Linked DNA regions of Homo sapiens: region 2 is linked to region 1. Evidence: promoter capture Hi-C in human tissues and cell types (Jung and others, 2019). All regions are on one chromosome and are shown on one strand. The core of a region is centred on a gene start or on the middle of the fragment in contact, and the rest is flanking DNA. Distances in the headings are between cores, read along the strand shown.

Region 1 (3,335 bases), core at 396-2,895:
TACTCGGGAGGCTGAGGCAGAAGAATGGCGTGAACGTGGGAAGTGGAGCTTGCAGTGAGCCGAGATCACGCCACTGCACTCCAGCCTGGGTGACAGAGCAAGACTCCGTCCCCCCCAAAAAAAAAAAGAAAAAAAAGATTTTTAGGGAACAAGACATACATTAATCCAGAGATACCAACTTTACCAAATGATGAAATGGAACATCCCCAATAATGGGACACACTGACCTCATGTGCTTCCTTCCTCCATTCCAAATCTCCCTCATCCTACAGTGAGAATCTGGGTTCTGGTACCACCAATCCTAGGATAACCCAAAGTTGCTTCGGAATGGCTCCGCCCTCCCCACTGCCAATAACAAAGTCACTAGTGAGGTTTGGGGTTCTGTCACAGGCCTCCCAGTTCTTAGAGTGTACTCCACTAAGGAGGTACCCCTGGACAACCCAGCTCTATAATTACTCAGATCGTTTTATTCTTTTTCTGCAAGTGAGGTTATGTCATCAACGTCATACAGAGATTAATTAGTTTCTGTTGATTTTCTTTATCTTTTTTCTAAGAGACAGGGTCTGGCTCTGTTATTGCAGCTTTAATCATAGCTCAAAGTGGCATGATCATAGTTCACTGTAGCCTCGACCTCCTGGGCTCAAGCAATCCTGGGACTACAGGCATGCCCCACTAGGCTGAGCTAATTTTTTTTTTTTTTTTTTTGGTAGAGATGGGGTCTCACTATGATGCCCAGGATGGTCTCTAGCTCCTGGCCTCAAGGGATCCTCCTATCTTGACCTCCCAAAGTGTTGGGATTACAGGCATGAGCCTCCTTGCCCCTCTTCTGTTGTTTTTTTCCTATCCTTGTTGACTTACTTTTATTTCTTAAATGTAAAATTGATTTAAGGTGCATCCAGAGATGTGCACAGATTCTTGTGATGGAGGGAACCGCACAGTCATGGTGAGGAGTCCATCATAATTTTCAAACGCCCCTTTAAGAAGTAGGCATTAACACCCTGCTCCATCCCTTTGGAGGCAGCCCTGGGCTGAGCACTGGACTCCTGGGTTCCACCAGCCTCAGTGTCTCCAGGAGACCAAGCGCGGCCGGGGGTGAGTCCCTGTCCCCGCGCCCCCCACCACGCTCCAATACTTACCCCCTGCCCCACCCCCCAGCCTCCCGGGCCTTGGCTTGTACCTGTGAACCGAAGGGGTCATACTAGGCGTCATACTAGGGTCTCTGGATAGCTCCCAGGCCTGGACTTCGTTTTCCAGGATATCACCTTTACTGGTCAACCCATTTTGTTTCGCGAGTGCCCAGTGAGTGTTTGGCACGTAATAGAGCCTCCATAAATAGTTGTAGAAATTAGCGTCATTTTACAGTATGGAAACTGAGGCTCCAAGTGGGAGTGGCTTGCCCTCAAGGTCCCATTGGTGAGAGACGCTGTGGAAGGGCTGCCCTGGCCTGGGCACACAGTAGGCGCTTTGATGCGGGCTGGAGAAGGTCCTGCCCGGTGGGATTGCGCCCTGGGGCACCGCGCACGGGTCGGGGAAGCCCGGGGCAGGGCCGTATGCAAATAGCGCGCGAGGAGGCCGCGGATTGGCCAGCCCAGGCGGGGGCGGGGCGCGCCGAGGGCCCAGAGCTGGCAGGTGCCCTGGCAGGGACAGGTCTGGTGCCCGCGCCTGCTCGCTGGACCGCCCGCCCCGCGCTCTGGCGGCTCCTCCCGGGCGATGCCTCCGCTCTGGGCCCTGCTGGCCCTCGGCTGCCTGCGGTTCGGCTCGGGTAGGCGGTGAAGGGCAGGAGGGGGCTGAGCCCAGAAAGAGCGGGCAGCTCTGCCCTGGGGCGCCCGCCGCCTGGACCCTGATTCCTGGCGCTGGGGACCCAGATATTACTGTTATGAATAATAGTGATAGCCAACGTTTACGGGCCTCCTCTGTTGGGAATCCGAGGGCTCACAGATGGCTGCAGCCCTGCGATGTGTGTTGCAAGAGACCAACATGCAGGGGGGCTGCGGTAGGACAGAGAAGGGACTAGCCCCAGCCCCATGGTGACGCCTGGACGGGGGCAGATAGAGAGATATTTCGGCCGAGGAAGCAGCATGGGCAAGTTCATGGAGGGGAGACAATATTGGGCTGTCCTGGGAACTGCCAGTCCATGGGACCAGCTGGAGCCTGGGGTGAGGGGAGCCTGTGGGGGAAGGGGTGAGGCTGGAGACCGAACAAAGCAAAGCCCAGAACTTCAGGACCTCACTGCCTTTCCAGAGAGGCTGGACTTCGTCAGGGGGCGCTGGGGGACCATGGGAGGGCCATAGCCAGAGAATGAGGCAGTCAGACTTGCATGTGGGGGGAGGGCCCAGGTGAGGAAGGTGGGACGGAGGAGGGCTGGGCCGATGGCATGGAGAGATGCTTAGGAGGGGCAGTGGAGTTCTTGGCAACTGAGTGTCTGCAGCAGGGAGAGAAGGCAGCAGTTTGGCCCGACCGCTCCATTTCTGAGCAGGATGACTGGGCAGGGGGCAGTGTCTGAGACAGCTTATGCGGTGGCCCAGGGGGAGGGTGAAGCCCAGGGCCTGGCACACAACACGTGCTCAGTAACTGCAAGCAGAGTGGGTGTGGACAGTTCTGCCGGAGGTCAGTTCCCATCCTCACTGCCTCCTCCAGCTGTGAACCTGCAGCCCCAACTGGCCAGTGTGACTTTCGCCACCAACAACCCCACACTTACCACTGTGGCCTTGGAAAAGCCTCTCTGCATGTTTGACAGCAAAGAGGCCCTCACTGGCACCCACGAGGTCTACCTGTATGTCCTGGTCGACTCAGGTAAGGGTCCTGCTTCCCTCTGGCTACTCCAAAAGGGGCTCTGACCTGTCTGCAGGGAGGAGGGAAGGAGGCAGATAGAGGAACCCTCCATGCCTGTAGTCGTCTCATTAAACAGGTACTGCAGCCACAGACCTGTCCTTGCCTTGCAGGGACATCCAGTTAGTGAGGGAAGTAATAACACCACCAGTCACTGAACACCTACACCATACCAGGCACTTTGCACACCATAGAGCTAGTATCTACAACCAGCTTGTAAGGTAGCTATTACCAATCCCCATTACAGAGCAGGGAAGCAAGGCTCAGAGAGGTGGAATAACCCCCCCTGGACCTCCCAGGGCTGGAGAGTGAATCCTGATCTCTCTAGTCCCCAAGCCCAAGGTCCTTCCTGAGGCTTCGAAAGGTGGCTCAAGATTGGTGTTTCTGAGACAAAACCATGCATTTGGACCTGCTGCTGTGGCCCAGCCCCAACCCCTGCCCTGGAGGGGATCCTGAGCTTCTGAGACAAGCCAACATCAACTCTTGCATTTCTAGCAGCCAGTCAT
Region 2 (3,335 bases), core at 407-2,906, 400 kb after region 1:
TTGCTCTTAAGAAATTTAAAATACAGTTAATTGGGTTATAACTCCTCCCAGACCCTCAAGCTTATCCACTGTATCATTTAATGGGAAAGGAGAAATTCGATGTTTGCTTAACAGCAGTCATAAAATATCTATATGATATTCACATCTTAAAATCTGACACGTTTTTAAGTTTCTGAGTAGAGATTATATGGATTTCTTAATGGGAAAGGGAGGGTTGAGCTGATGCCTCACTTTCCCCTTTCTGTTGCTGACTCAAAGGGTACTGATTTCACTGCCTATGTCAGGCTTGATTCCTGGCTCTGAGCACAAGCTCTGTAAGTGCTTGGATTACATAGCAAGGCTGTGATGCAGTCAGGGGCCACTTTTGAGTGTGCAAACAGTCTCATCACTGTTTAAAACTTGAACAAATTCAATTAATGGGTGCCAATTCTGGGCCCTAGAGATACAGAAAAGAATAAGATAGTCTCCATTTTTCAAGGACTTAACAGTCTAGCCGGGGAGATAGGTTATATAAATCTTATCTGATGTGGACAAGTTATTCCAGTCTTATGAACAGATCTCCAGGGCTTCATAGAGGGAGTCTGTTTGTCTGGAAAAGTGGAGGAGTTTCTCCAGGTCTGAGTTTCCCAAAGGTTTGAAAGGAGATGCAGGCCAGGCGCAGTGGCTCACGCATGTAATCCCAACACTCTGGGAGGCCGAGGCGGGCAGATCACGAGGTCAGGAGACCGAGACCAGCCTGACCAAAATGGTGAAACCCTGTCTCTACTAAAATACAAAAAAATTAGCCGGGCGTGGTGGCATGCACCTGTAGTCCCAGCTACTCAGGAGGCTGAGGCAGAAGAATCACTTGAACCCAGGAGGTGGAGGTTGCAGTGAGCTGAGATCACGCTACTGCACTCCAGCCTGGGCAACAGAGCAAGACTCCATCTCAAAAAAAAAAAAAAAAAGGAGATGTAAGTTTCTCCCAGGCAGAGGATTGGGAGATTTGGAGAGGACTTTCTTCTGGTGGTGAGATATGTTTGAGCAAAGACAGAAGATTGGCGAAATCGGGGGTTTTCAGGAATCCATGGTTTACAACCTGGGGAGAGCATATGACAGTGATCACAGCTCCACATTATTTTTTCTTTATACTGCAAACGCGAATTATTGTGTGCCAAATAGATGCTGTCATGATTACTCTTTAGTCGCTATTAATAGTTATTTGGATTTCAGGAATGTTTTGGTTGGCCTTAGCTCAGTTAAATGCTTTTCATTTGGTTAAAATTATTATAAGGGCATGGTGCATATATAACAAATTACCATGTAGCATTGGGAATTATTCACAACATAGTTCATGAACTTAGTATTTATTCTATGGTCGGGAAATCATTTTTCCCATTTTCTTTAAGAATATTGCTTTTCTTCTGTCTTGTTTAGTCTGTACCATAGTTTGATTCCAAAGCTTTTGCTGTGCTAGATACCAATTTTGAGTAAAACAGATGTTACGATTGCAAGGAATGACTTCAGGGAAGACCATTCACGGGGGAAAGGTGGTTCCCATATAAGAGGCAGACGGCAAAGGATCAGGTGAAAGAAATAATTCTCGCTGCTTTCTTACAGCTGTAAATACACATTCTTAGTCATCTCAGTAGGAAAAGAGAGGCGTTATTGAAGCTTATTCAAGTTGCAGAGCTCTACTTTTACTTGACTATAGCATTAAATAATAAATGGCTTCAAAACTTCATGCAGATGGGGCAAATAGAGGTGATTAGTTTTGTTCTTTGTCCTAGAAATTGTGATCAGCCTTAGCATTCTTCATAGTGTTTTAAACTCCTGGTTATTTTCTTAGCTGATGAGTGTCTACAATATATTTGGTACTCCTTAAAGCTACCTTAAGAATGTTAGTGAATCGGCCAGGTGCAGTGGCTCACACCTGTAATCCCAGCACTTTGGGAGGCCGAGGTAGGCAGATCACGAGATCGGGAGTTCGAGACCAGCCTGGCTAATGGTGAAACCCTGTCTCTACTAAAAATACAAAAATTAGCCGGGCGTGGTGGCGTGTGCCTGTAGTCCCAGCTACTCGGGAGGCTGAGGCAGAAGAATTGCTTGAACCCAGGAGGCAGAGGTTGCAGTGAGCCAAGATTGCACCACTGCAACTCCAGCCTGGGCGACAGAGCAAAACTCCGTCTCAAAAAAAAGAGTGTTAGTGAGTATTCTTCCATTCTTCTTACGGCAATGCTGTCACTAAAAAATGGCTTATGTACTTGTTTCATACAGTTTATTGAGGCAAGATTAGTGCTGTACCCTTGAATTTTCATTTCTTAATTTGGTCACTCAGTTGCCGAGACACTGAGTCAAAGTTTCATTATTTACACTCAGGGCTGACTGGGGGAGACATAGACAAATTATTTTATGTGCAGTTTCCCAGTTTTTAATTAATTTATACTCTGCCTCTTTCAAAACCAAGTTTGAGATACCTTAAAAAATAAATACGAGAAAAAGATAAGGGGGGAAATTAGGGGTAGTGGAAAAGCCAGATAGAAAAAGTAAGGATTCATGTTGTTTGGGTCATAAATTTGACTCCAGACTTAAGAAAGGCCCCGACAGAGAGAAAACATAATAAATAATGTGAGTTCTATTGTCTGTTCGTAAGATAAAAACACACATCACTTGGTGTATAAGAAGCCATGGTACTGAAGTTCAAGGAAAGACGTGTTTCCTCTGCCCCCGGAAAAGGGGCTTCCATAGGTGTCTTCTGCGGCAACTGAGCAGCTCTGTAACCTGGGCAGCTCAGTGTCCAGAGTTCTGAATGAACATGTGGCTCCCTGCTGGTCTGGCTCAATCCAAGGGTGAAAGGTAGGGCACTGTGAATCTACAGCGAGAGCAGAAGGAGAAAATTCATATGGTCTGAATCATTTGGCATTTATAGAATCTCTTAAATTGTCCAATGTGGCAACTTTCCTTCTAACGTTAAAAGAGATTTGCTGTTTCTTTAGGGGATTTATGGAATGAGGAAGTTGGCTTGCATTTAGGTGCAATGTTGCACAAAAAATTCTTATCTTTAGAGCTCTGGAATGATAGCCAGTGCAGGCAGTACTCCTGGCATGAGAGGCACGCAGAGACTGAGATGCCCAGAGGGTACAACCACAGGTTCATCTTTCTCCCTGGGCATACATTCTTGGTGGAAGAACAGGCACACTTTACATTCTCCCCCTCTCCTTTCTCTCCCATCTATGTAGTTGACTGTAGAAGTTTGGTGTGTGTGTTGTCAGCCTCACTGTGTCTACAGAGTAGATAGTATCCTTGTCCTACAGGAATATTGTTTCTTATAACTGAACTTAGCTACATATTGGGTG

What was found. Contacts are between HindIII fragments. The study calls those that stand out against the background at their distance.
Region 2: a fragment that was not itself captured here is called in contact with the fragment with the promoter of UPK3A in region 1 in 1 of the 25 tissues and cell types used here (bladder).

The regions. Positions count from the first base shown.
Region 1 is chr22:45,283,304-45,286,638 of GRCh38, forward strand. UPK3A (uroplakin 3A) reads left to right here and starts at 1,646. Exons shown (of 6, transcript NM_006953.4): 1 at 1,646-1,762; 2 at 2,638-2,793. The coding sequence starts at 1,711. RefSeq lists a silencer at 1,467-1,776. The HindIII fragment of the contact is 20,192 bases long and covers 1-3,335 here.
Region 2 is chr22:45,685,889-45,689,223 of GRCh38, forward strand. All of the region lies in intron 1 of ATXN10 (ataxin 10), which reads left to right. Among named protein-coding and RNA genes, the nearest start is that of ATXN10, 16 kb to the left of the region's middle. The HindIII fragment of the contact is 3,403 bases long and covers 1-3,335 here.